Regions from separate parts of the Homo sapiens genome. Here region 2 is linked to region 1. The links are contacts of gene promoters, found by promoter capture Hi-C in blood cells and fetal thymus (Javierre and others, 2016). All regions are on one chromosome and are shown on one strand. Each heading gives the region's core, a stretch centred on a gene start or on the middle of the fragment in contact. The rest is flanking DNA. Distances are from core to core; before and after follow the strand shown.

What was found. The method cuts DNA at HindIII sites, captures the fragments that hold promoters and counts their contacts. A CHiCAGO score of 5 or more calls a contact.
Region 2: a contact is called between a fragment that was not itself captured here and the fragment with the promoter of FBP1 in region 1, in 4 of 17 cell types (megakaryocytes, naive CD4 T cells, endothelial precursors and 1 more). The highest score is 6.6, in megakaryocytes.

Annotation. Positions count from the first base shown.
Region 1 is chr9:94,637,895-94,644,194 of GRCh38, reverse strand. FBP1 (fructose-bisphosphatase 1) reads left to right here and starts at 4,677. Exons shown (of 7, transcript NM_000507.4): 1 at 4,677-5,054. The coding sequence starts at 4,885. RefSeq lists a silencer at 4,544-4,603. The HindIII fragment of the contact is 3,451 bases long and covers 3,674-6,300 here.
Region 2 is chr9:95,107,563-95,111,370 of GRCh38, reverse strand. All of the region lies in intron 13 of FANCC (FA complementation group C), which reads left to right. LOC107987102 (a long non-coding RNA gene) reads right to left here. Exons shown (of 2, transcript XR_001746847.2): 2 at 2,625-3,808. It also overlaps a transcript of AOPEP not described here. Among named protein-coding and RNA genes, the nearest start is that of MIR3074, 23 kb to the right of the region's middle. The HindIII fragment of the contact is 1,842 bases long and covers 908-2,749 here.

The DNA of each region.
Region 1 (6,300 bases), core at 3,428-5,927:
GAGCCGAGATCATGCCACTGCACTCCAGCCTGGACGACAGAGTGAGACTCTATCTCAAAAAAAAAAAAAAGAAAAGAAAAGAAAAGGAAAAGAAAGAAAAGCCTCAGTCCCTTCATCTGTAAAGACAGGGGTTTGATTAGAAGCCACCCCAGAGTGGTTCTGGATTGATTAAAGGCTGCTTCTGAAGCCCTGGGCAAGTGCCACACCCTTAGCAAGTGCTAAATAGATGTTTGCTGTTTAGTTTCCACACCAGGCCCCCGGGGCCACAGGAGCTGGGGGAGGTGTTTAAGGAAGGACCATGCTACTGCAATCCCTCTCACATACACCACTTGGCTTTTGTTTTTCTTTTTGTGTTTTTGTTAGAGACACACTCTCACTCTATTGCCTAGGCTGGAGTGCAGTGCTGTGATCACGGCTCACCGCAGCCTCGACCTCTTGGGCTCAAGTGATCCTCCTCCTTCAGCCTCTCCAGTAGCTGAGACTACAGGCATGCGCCACCACTCCTGGGTAATTTTTAAATTTTTTTAGAGACAGTGTTTTCCTTATGTTGTCCAGGCCGCTTTTAAAATTCCTGGGCTCAAGTGGTCTGTCTGCCTCGGCAACCCAGAGCATTGGGATTACAGGTGTGTGCACTGTGCCTGGCCTGTTTTTCTTTCCTGTGGCACTAACCGCCCCCACAGAGGGGAAAGTAAGCAGTGGAGCCCTGGGTTGAGGGCGGCTGTTGTAGGGGCAGGGACTGTCCACACTGTTACTTCTCCACTGCCCGCCTCCAACATAACCCCATCGTGGGAGCTGGGTGAGGAAATGCATGAGCACTGATTCTTCGCAGGATTTCGAGTGTTACACATGTGGTAATACTGCTCACATCACTTGAATCTGCAATCCCATGTGAAGTTGGAGTATGTGGCAAGAAGCAACTCTGCGAGGGTGGTGGGTGGAGGAGGGAGGGGCCCAACCCACAGGCCAGGAACCCATGTGAGGTGGCCGCCTTCCTCTGTCTCTTGCTAATACCTGGGTGATGGGCTTTATGCATCTTGACCCAGAAAAGAGCGAGTCACAATCGACCAATATGATGGAGGGGATATCACTGCACACCAGGCAAATACAGGCTCAGCTGCCAATTCCCACATCCCTCTAGCCCCTTTTGATGGCCAGGGAACTTTCTTGCTTCTGTTCACATGAAAACAACAGTTGGCCCTACCCATGTAACGAAGCAAACACTTACATACTGTGTACTTACTACATGCTGGGCACTGTTCTTAAACACTACCAGCACTGCCTGTATAATTCTCCCAGCAACCCTATGAGGTGGCTACAATCATTAGCCCCAGTTTACAGATGAGCCAATGGTTGCTTGGTGAGGTTTAGCCAATTGCACAGGCTTGCACAGCCAGTAAGTGGCCAGGCCAGGGTTTGGACCCAAGCCATGCAGCCCCAGAGTCTGTGCACTTCACCACAATGCGACGTGGCCTAGTCCCAAGGGGAATGGCTTGCCTTGTAGGCAATGAGCTGCCCATCATCGTGGGTGACAAGCAGAAGTGACTGAGCTAGACAGGGGTCTCCTCCACGTATTCAGTGTGTCCCCTGTGTGTAGCTCTGAGCTAAGCACTCTGCCAATGCCATCTCATTTCAGCCCGATGACACCACTGCCAGATGGAACCATTATTCCACTATATGGATGAACAAACTGGGTTTACAGAGATTAGGTAACTGGTCCGAGATCTCTGGCTGCTGAGGGCTGGAGCTGGGACTCAAACAAGTTTGCTTAATGCAGATCCCAAGCTCTTCACCTCTTATCAGGGATGGTGTCCAATGAGGGTTGGCTGGACTAGATGACTTTTACGGTCCTAGCCAATCCAAGATCCTGAGGGACTGAGAGTCTGGCAAGTAAAGGGGCACACTCCCCTAGTTACTAGCTCTAGCTCTCCCCTAGTAACTAGTTACTATGCCAAAAATACTAGTCATCACATTTCAGTTCTTTTTTTTTTTTTTGAGATTGAATCTCGCTCTGTTGCCCAGGCTGGAGTGCAGCGGCAGGATCTTGACTCACTGCAACTTCTGTCTCCCGGGTTCAAGCGATTCTCCTGCCTCAGCCTCCTGAGTAGCTGGAATTACAGGTGCACACCACCATGCCCGGCTAATTTTTTATTTTAGTAGAGATGGGTTTCACCATGTTGGCCAGGCTGGTCTTGAACTCCTGACCTCAAGATCTGCCCGCCTCAGCCTCCAGTTTGTTTGTTTTTCTTTTTTTTTTTTTTTTTTGAGATGGAGTTTTGTTCTTGATGCCCAGGCTGGACTGCAATGGTGCCATCTCTGCTCACTGCAATCTCCGCCTCCCAGGTTCAAGCGATTCTCCTGCCTCAGCCTCCTGAGTAGCTGGAATTACAGGCATGCACCACCATGCCCAGCTAATTTTTGTACTTTTAGTAGAGACGGGGTTTCTCCATGTTGGTCAGGCTGGTCTCGAGCTCCCAACCTCAGGTGATCTGCCCGCCTCGGCCTCCCAAAGTGAAGTGCTGGGATTACAGGTGTGAGCCAGTGAGCCGGGCCTATTTGAGTTTTTATGTTTAAGGATGTATTTCTCTTACTATTTTTTTTAACACAGGGTTTTTCCTGAAAAGTTGCCTGAGGAACAAAGAGTTAAATAAGACCCTTAAAGGATCAACTCTCTTTGCCAGGCATCTAAGTCCCCTCTGGGGCTTTGAGGAGACAGTCGCTGTCTTTCCTGGTGGTACCACCACCTTCCTTCATTCAACGCCGCCGCATCTGACAACCCTGGGCACAGGAATCTGCACCCCAGGTCTCCACGGTGAATCCAGCAGTCAATTTTCAGAGCTTGTCCTGCCTGCCCCATCCACACCGCTTGGCACATGGGTCAGCCCGCCTTTACTTACCTTCTTCATCTGGCTTCCCGGATGTCACATCTCTTGGTTTTTGGTTGGTTTTTCCAGTTGGCTTTTCCAATTTATACCTGCAGCATGGATCTCTCCTCTGAACTCCAGATACATAAATCTGTCTATTTGACATTGCCTTGGATGTCTAGAAGGCATTTCAAACTTAGCAGGTCCCACACTTAGCTCCTAATTGTCAGTCCTGCCTCCAGCACACGCCCCTCTCGGTGTTCCCCATCGCAGTCGAGGACAACTGCATTCTTCTAGTTTCTCAGGCCTCAAACCTTAGAATCATCCGAGACTCCTGTCTCTCACATATCTCATCTGTCAACGAATCCCATCAGCTCTACCTTCAAAATATGTCCAGAATCCACCACCTCCACTGCTAACACCTGGCTCACTATCTCCTAGTAACCTGGAGGGCACTGTCTTCAGTCTGATCTTCACACAGTAGCCGCAGTATGAAGACACAGGGTAGACCATGCCTCTCTTCTTCTCCAAACTCTCCAGTGGGTTCCTCCTAGTCAAAGTCAAACCTCACTTGGCCCTCTAGACCTCACCTCTGCATCCTCCCGCTGGCCTTATCTCCTCCACCTCTGACCCTTGCTAGCTCTATTTCAGCTCCACCGGTCTCCTGGCCATTCCCTGAACCTGAAACATGGTCTCCTACCCCAGGGCCTGTGCACTGGCTCTCCCGGTGAGGAAACCGCTCTCCTTCCCATCTCCACCGGCGCGTTGCATCCTTCACCTCTTTGCTCACATATCCCTTTCTCAGAGAAGCTTTTACTGAGGCCTCTGCTCACCCTCTTCTCCCCTCCACATTCCGTGTCTTCCTTTTCTATTTCGTTTCTCTCTATGGTACTTATGGCTTATGTAACAAACTAATCTATTGTTTATATATTTATTTTTACTGTTTCTCTGTGAAAACGTACACTCGAAAAGGGCAGGAGTTTTGTCTGTTTGGATCAGGCTCCACCCCTGGAAGGTAGGACAGTGTTCAGCACAGCAGGTGCTCAATAGGTGTTGTTTCGTGAATCAGCACATCAATTGCAGCATTGTGGCTACCAGGGGGTCAGGATGCGGGCGGTGGAGCCCTCTGGCCTTTGTGTGGTAGCCGAGGACTCTGTGTCAGCGACCGTTTTCCGGGAAACTTCCGGGCGAGACTCACATCTTGGAAATTCAAATACTCAATAGCTCTCGAATTCTAGGAATCTTGAGAAGAGGCCTGGATTAAGGATTCAGACGTGGGCCCTCAGATGGGTGAGAAACGGGGACTCTGTGTCTCCTAGCGGGGACAGAAGGGCCAGGTGACAGGCCAGGCAGAGTGGACGGGGCTTGGGCAGGGGGCGGGGGCAGGCAGCCACACGGGGCAGGAGCTGCAGAGCTAAAGCCAGGCCATGTGGACTGGCTGCGGGTTTCGCTGCCTAGCTGGTGGCATTGAGCAAGTTACTTAACCTTTCTGAACTTCCGTTTTATGATTTTGGAGGAAACAGTCATAGCTTTCTCTCTGGCAGAGTCCGATGGCCCGAGTCCCGCTCCACAGTGCGGGTGGAGGGCACGGAGGGGTGTGTGTGGGGGGCGACAGCCCAGGAAGACTAGGGGGCGGCAGGGCGCGTGGGGGCGGGGGTTGGGAGACCGCAGGGAGGATCCCCGACCTTGTCTGAAGATCCAAGCAGGCGGAGCCGCGGTCTGGTCCGCGGGGTAGGCGGGGCGCAAGAGTGTTCCCGGGGGCGGGGGGCCGACCCGCGTCTAAAGGTTTCCGCGATTCACCCGCCGGCGCCTGGCCTGGCCCAGTTGCACCACGAGCGCTGCGGACACTCGGGGCGGCAGTCGGTCTGTCAGTCCTCCCGCCAGGTCCCGCGGCCCGCACCTGCCGCCCGCACCTGCAGCTCCGCACCTGCGGCCAGTGCCTACTGCCCTCTCTTGCCGCCCGCACCTGCAGCCCCGCACCTGCCGCTTGCACCTGCAGCCCCGCGCTCTACCCGGTTCAAGCATGGCTGACCAGGCGCCCTTCGACACGGACGTCAACACCCTGACCCGCTTCGTCATGGAGGAGGGCAGGAAGGCCCGCGGCACGGGCGAGTTGACCCAGCTGCTCAACTCGCTCTGCACAGCAGTCAAAGCCATCTCTTCGGCGGTGCGCAAGGCGGGCATCGCGCACCTGTGAGTCGGGCCTTGGGCGGTGGGCCCCGTCCTGTCTGTCTGCCTGGGGAGCCTGCCCGGCGGGCTGACGTTGGGCCCTCTGAGCCTCCTGCCGTCAGCCTCTGTCTGTCCGTCTGATGTCTGAGCGCCTCTCTCGCTCTCTGTCTGGTAGCCCCTCTCTCCAGAAGCTGGCTCAGCCTCACTCAAGTCCTCATCTCCTCCCTTGACCTTGGAGGGGCCCACCTGGGGGTCCGTCTCACAGGTGTACACCTGATTCCATCTTGCATTCCTCTTCTCTGCCCTGAGCAGCCTGCCTCGTACCCCTCTCAGCCGGCCAAGTGTGGGCACCTGGCCTGCCCGTCATACCCGCCCTAGCCTCAGACAGGAAAGTGCTAGCTCAGGTGCCTTCCTTCCCCATTTCTTCTTTGTCCTCCTTCACTCTTTCTGCAATTAGGGACCCAAGTCAGGTTTCTAATCCAGTTATCTCTGACCTGAAACAAGACCTGTTAGGAGCGAGTGTCCCCCCCGCCCCCCCCGCAAGCAGGCTGGGAGGTCTCCTGTGTGTCCAGAGCCTTTAGGAGCAGCAGGGCTTGTGTGCAAAGGAGCTCCCGTGGGCTGCCCCTTGCTGGGACAGTTGCCATGCTGTGCCAGAAACAGGAAACACCCAGGGCTTCAAAACCCCTATCGATTTGCAATGATGGTGTGTGCAGCCTCTGCCCAATTAGTGGAAAGCTCAAAAGTGGTTTGTAGAATGGTTCTGAATGCGCTATGGAGTGCATCTCGAACGTCACTGGGCACAGGAATCATTTGGGGATCTTGGTAAGATGTGTGCCCTCCTTCCATAGCTCTGGGACAGGTCCTGAGATTCTGCATTTCTAAGAAGTTCTCCTGTGGTGGGTGCTGCCCATCAGATACTGTTTGTCTACTCATCACATTGTGAGTAGCAAGGGGTCAAGTGGAGTGGAGACTCAAAGGACCCCTTCTTGTGAGGTTTTTTGTAAGTCACACAACATCCTTTCGTTTGTGTTGGTGTGCACAGGTATTTTCTTTTTCTTTTCTTTTTTTTTTTTTTTTTGAGATGGAATTTTGCTCTTGTTGCCCAGGCTGGAGTGCAATGGTGCGATCTTGGCTCACCGCAACCTCTGCCTCCCAGGTTCAAGCGATTCTCCTGCCTCAGTCTCCCGAGTAGCTGGGATTACAGGCATGTGCCACCATGCCCAGCTAATTTTGTAATTTTTTTTAGTAGAAACGGGGTTTCTCCATGTTG
Region 2 (3,808 bases), core at 579-3,078, 470 kb before region 1:
CATGACACCTGAGCTCTGCCCACAGATGGCATATGTCATGGCAACCTGCAGGCATGGTGATCTCCAGCCTTGTGGTCAGAGGCGTTCTCCTGTCCCCACCGAGGTGGCCAGAGACGAGACGCTGCCAGCCCATTCTCCTGCAAAACGAAGACCCTTCTTCCCCAAGGTCATTTGATCTGTTATTGCTCAGCTGCCATATCTGCCCCAGGGTCGCGTCCTCCAAGGCGTGCCCTGCAGAGGCGGGCTGTTCTGAGGGGTGTGCCGGCAGCAGAGCCTGGCCACAGCCAGGGCCCTGTCTCGCTCCCCAGCAGCCCGGCCAGGGCTTGCTTCCATCTTGACTGTCTCCTTTCTTGGATCAGTCAACAGATCCTCACATTACTGGCTTTATTTACATCTCTTACTAAAGTAATCAGATGATATTAACCACTTTGCTTCTGAAAAAGAAGTTGGTCATTTCCTAAATAACAGAGCAGCTAAGTATGGGACTGGATAACTGTCTGTGGCAAAGACAGTTGTTATTTTATGTGGAATATAATAATTACAGGAAGCAATGCTTTGATTAAAGGCATTGGCACCTCCCTTGCAAGCATTGATTTGCTAGGTTCTTAAAACTTCAACTGCCAGTGCTCTATGCTGATCTTAGTAGTTAAAGAGGACAAGGCTCATTTTGTATAGAGCCCTGCTTCTCTTGGCTTTGGCATTTTCTGTTGTTTGAAAACACACAGACTAATAAAGATGTCTGCGTATTTTGTTTAAAGGCTTGCATGGCATAGGAAAGAAAAATAGTTTTAGATTTTAAAAAGTTGAAATTTGGTGATAATTTATTTTGGATCAGAAATAAAGCTTTGTGAAAAAATTATAACCCACGTATGTATTTGAGGATTGCTGTCTGATTAAAAAGAAAGCTTTTTATTTCTTCCCCTTTAAAAGATCACGTTAAGCTAAGGAAAATCCTGGTTGATGTTTTTAACAGTAATAAGATGTACGGGGCACATATGGTTTTTAAAGCCCTTTTATATTCTGTCTTATTTGATTCTGAATAAGCTAAGTTGGTAGATATGTGTTCAATTCCATCACAGTCAAAAGGTTACTGACAGAGAATCACTTTTGAAGTATAAAGAAATAAATTATTCAATAACACTTAATTTCTAGAAAGTTCTACATTGGCACATCTTCTACTAGCTAACTTGGTCCTTTTTTATGAAAAAATAAAACCCTTGCGTAGTTCTCCCTCAGGGGATGCCTAGGATTTTGGATGAGAACGTATTGGCTCAATGTGAGTGGGGCAGTGGCAGGCATCCATTTCCCTTCCCCCCATTCTGTCACAGGTGCCCATCTGCCTGGCAGTTCAATCCAGTGCTCATGTTGGTGACTCCAGAGCCCCTTCCTTGCTGGTGCCTGCCTGAGGCATTGGTGTATGTGGCGTCCTGGGAAGGGGATTTTAGTTTAATGAATGATACGTACCTCTTGTTTTCCTGGGTTTTGTGAGCTTTAATCCCTTGATGGTCTGTTGGGAGGCTTGAGAGACAAACTGTGAACTGTGTTAGAAAGCATGATTCGTATGTGATTGAATTGAAATTAGCAGTATCTCTGCATTTGTGCATTTACTTAAAAAGGCACAATTAAATCAGCTGGTGGCGTATCCCCGCATCGTGTGCTGGGCCTGGCGTCACTGCCTCTGTGGATGTCCTTGAGGTGAAGAACATGGGTGCAAAGACCAAGCGTGTCCCCGCCCAGGATGTGTCCTGCCTGTGAGAAGGCCTGTCCCACTCATGGGCAAGCCACCCTTTCCACCAGCAGCCAGAGTTCATCTCCTTTTGCCAACAACTGAATCAGATCACAACAAAATAAAAAAAAGTCGTTTAGATACCCTTAAGAATCAGTAAGGTACAATGATGCCTAGAGAAAAAAAGGAAAAAAAAAAATCAGGCAAGGGTTCATACCCTTTAACCCTGTGGTTCCACTTCTAGGAATTACCCTGGGGAATAGAGATCCATGCAAAGGCTTATGTATAAGAATATTCAGCACAGCATTGTTCATAAATACAACAATGGGAAATGGCCTGAACTTTCAATAGTAAGGCTACTGGCCAAATAAAGTGTGGTATATCCTAACCATGGAATAGCATTCTGTTACATACCATGAAAAATCATGCTCTTGGACGGGTGTGGTGGTTCATGCCTGTAATCTCAGCACTTTGGAAGGCCGAGGTGGCCGTATCACTTGAATCCATGAGTTTGAGACCAGCCTGGGCAACATAGACCCCTGTCTCTACAAAAAAATAAATAAAGAAATTAGCCAGGTATGGTAATGTGTGCCTGTAGTCCCAGCTACTCGGGAGGCTGAGATAGATGGAAGGATCGCTTGAGCTCAGGAGGCAGAGGTTGCAGTGAGTAGAGATTGCACCACTGCATTCCAGCCTGGGTGACAGAGCAAGGCTCTGTCTCCAAAAAAAAAAAAAGGTCTTGAAGAGCATGTTCTATAGATACAGTGAACTGAACTGCTTATAGTACATTATGGAGAGAAAAATGAAAGATACAAGGCATTATGTGTAGTGAGTGGTATGGTCTCAGTGCGTAGAAAAAAGACAAGAAGTATATAAACCGAATTATTAACAGTGAGTCTTTTTGGATGGTAGAGTTATAGATCATTTTAATGGTTCTTCTTTTTCTCTTTTCAAATTTTCCATAGTAAGCATATATGTCTTTATAATGCAGGATAAAAAATACTTTAAAAAGAAAAGAAAGCTTTTATCTTTCTCCTGAAAAACTTAGGACATGTTTAAAGTTAGTTATCGGTGTTCAAGTGGAAGCCCATGAGCATGGACGGCCTCTGAAGGGAAAGACAGTCTGGGCCAGACATAAAGGAAGATAGACCCCATCTTAGGGATTATTGGACAAGGGCAGAAAGTCGGTTGTGGGTCAAGAGAAAAAACAGATATAAAGGCATAGCCTCCTAAACCCTGACATTTTTGCAGACCCAGTTAGATGGCAGAATGGCCTTGGGCTCCCGTAGACACCATCAGACCCGGCAGGCTGGGCCGGCTGAGGGGCGAGGTGGGGAGAGTGAGGCCTGCCCTGCTGGAGCGCTGCCGCTCCCCGTGGAAGAGCCCGATGGTGCAGTTTCTCACGGTCTTGTATTGTGGTCAGAGGAGCTCACACAACACACCCAGTGTACTGGAGTTTATGACAGACTTCATTGAATGAGGCCTTGACTTCCAGGGAAAAAAAACGCCTCACACAAAATCCATAAAATCGGTCATGGGAATTCTCAGAATAGGCCTAAGTATTCTTTCAGAAGTGATGGAACATAGCTGTTCACGAGTTCCATGTGGCATTTGGAGCTATGGGCTTTCGGTTTTTGCTTTGCTTTGTTTTCCAAGTCACGACTGGGTGTACCATTCTTGTAGCAAGCAGAAACATCTCAGCATGGAATGAGTATTTTTTATGCAAAAGCAACCTGCAGACTTATAATTACCATTATTATGTGGGTTCCACAGACTTGTGGCCTCTGCTTGAGCATTAAACACGTATGAACAGATTGTTCCGGCATCTAAAACAAATGTGTTCTTGTGTGTGCATGCATGTGTGTATGACCGTGCTTGTGTACACGTGCGTGCATGTGTGTGTGTTCCCCCCGACCCCCCGCCCTGACCCCCAATATAGCAAGAAGCAAAGGCAAGCCTACATTCGTATGGGAACACTGGCTCGGCGGAGGTCTGACTGCGTGGGGCTTTAATTGATTTGTGGCTGTGATAGGCGAGTCTTCAAGGAGCCTTTTGTTCTTTTTCCCACAATATAAAAATCTG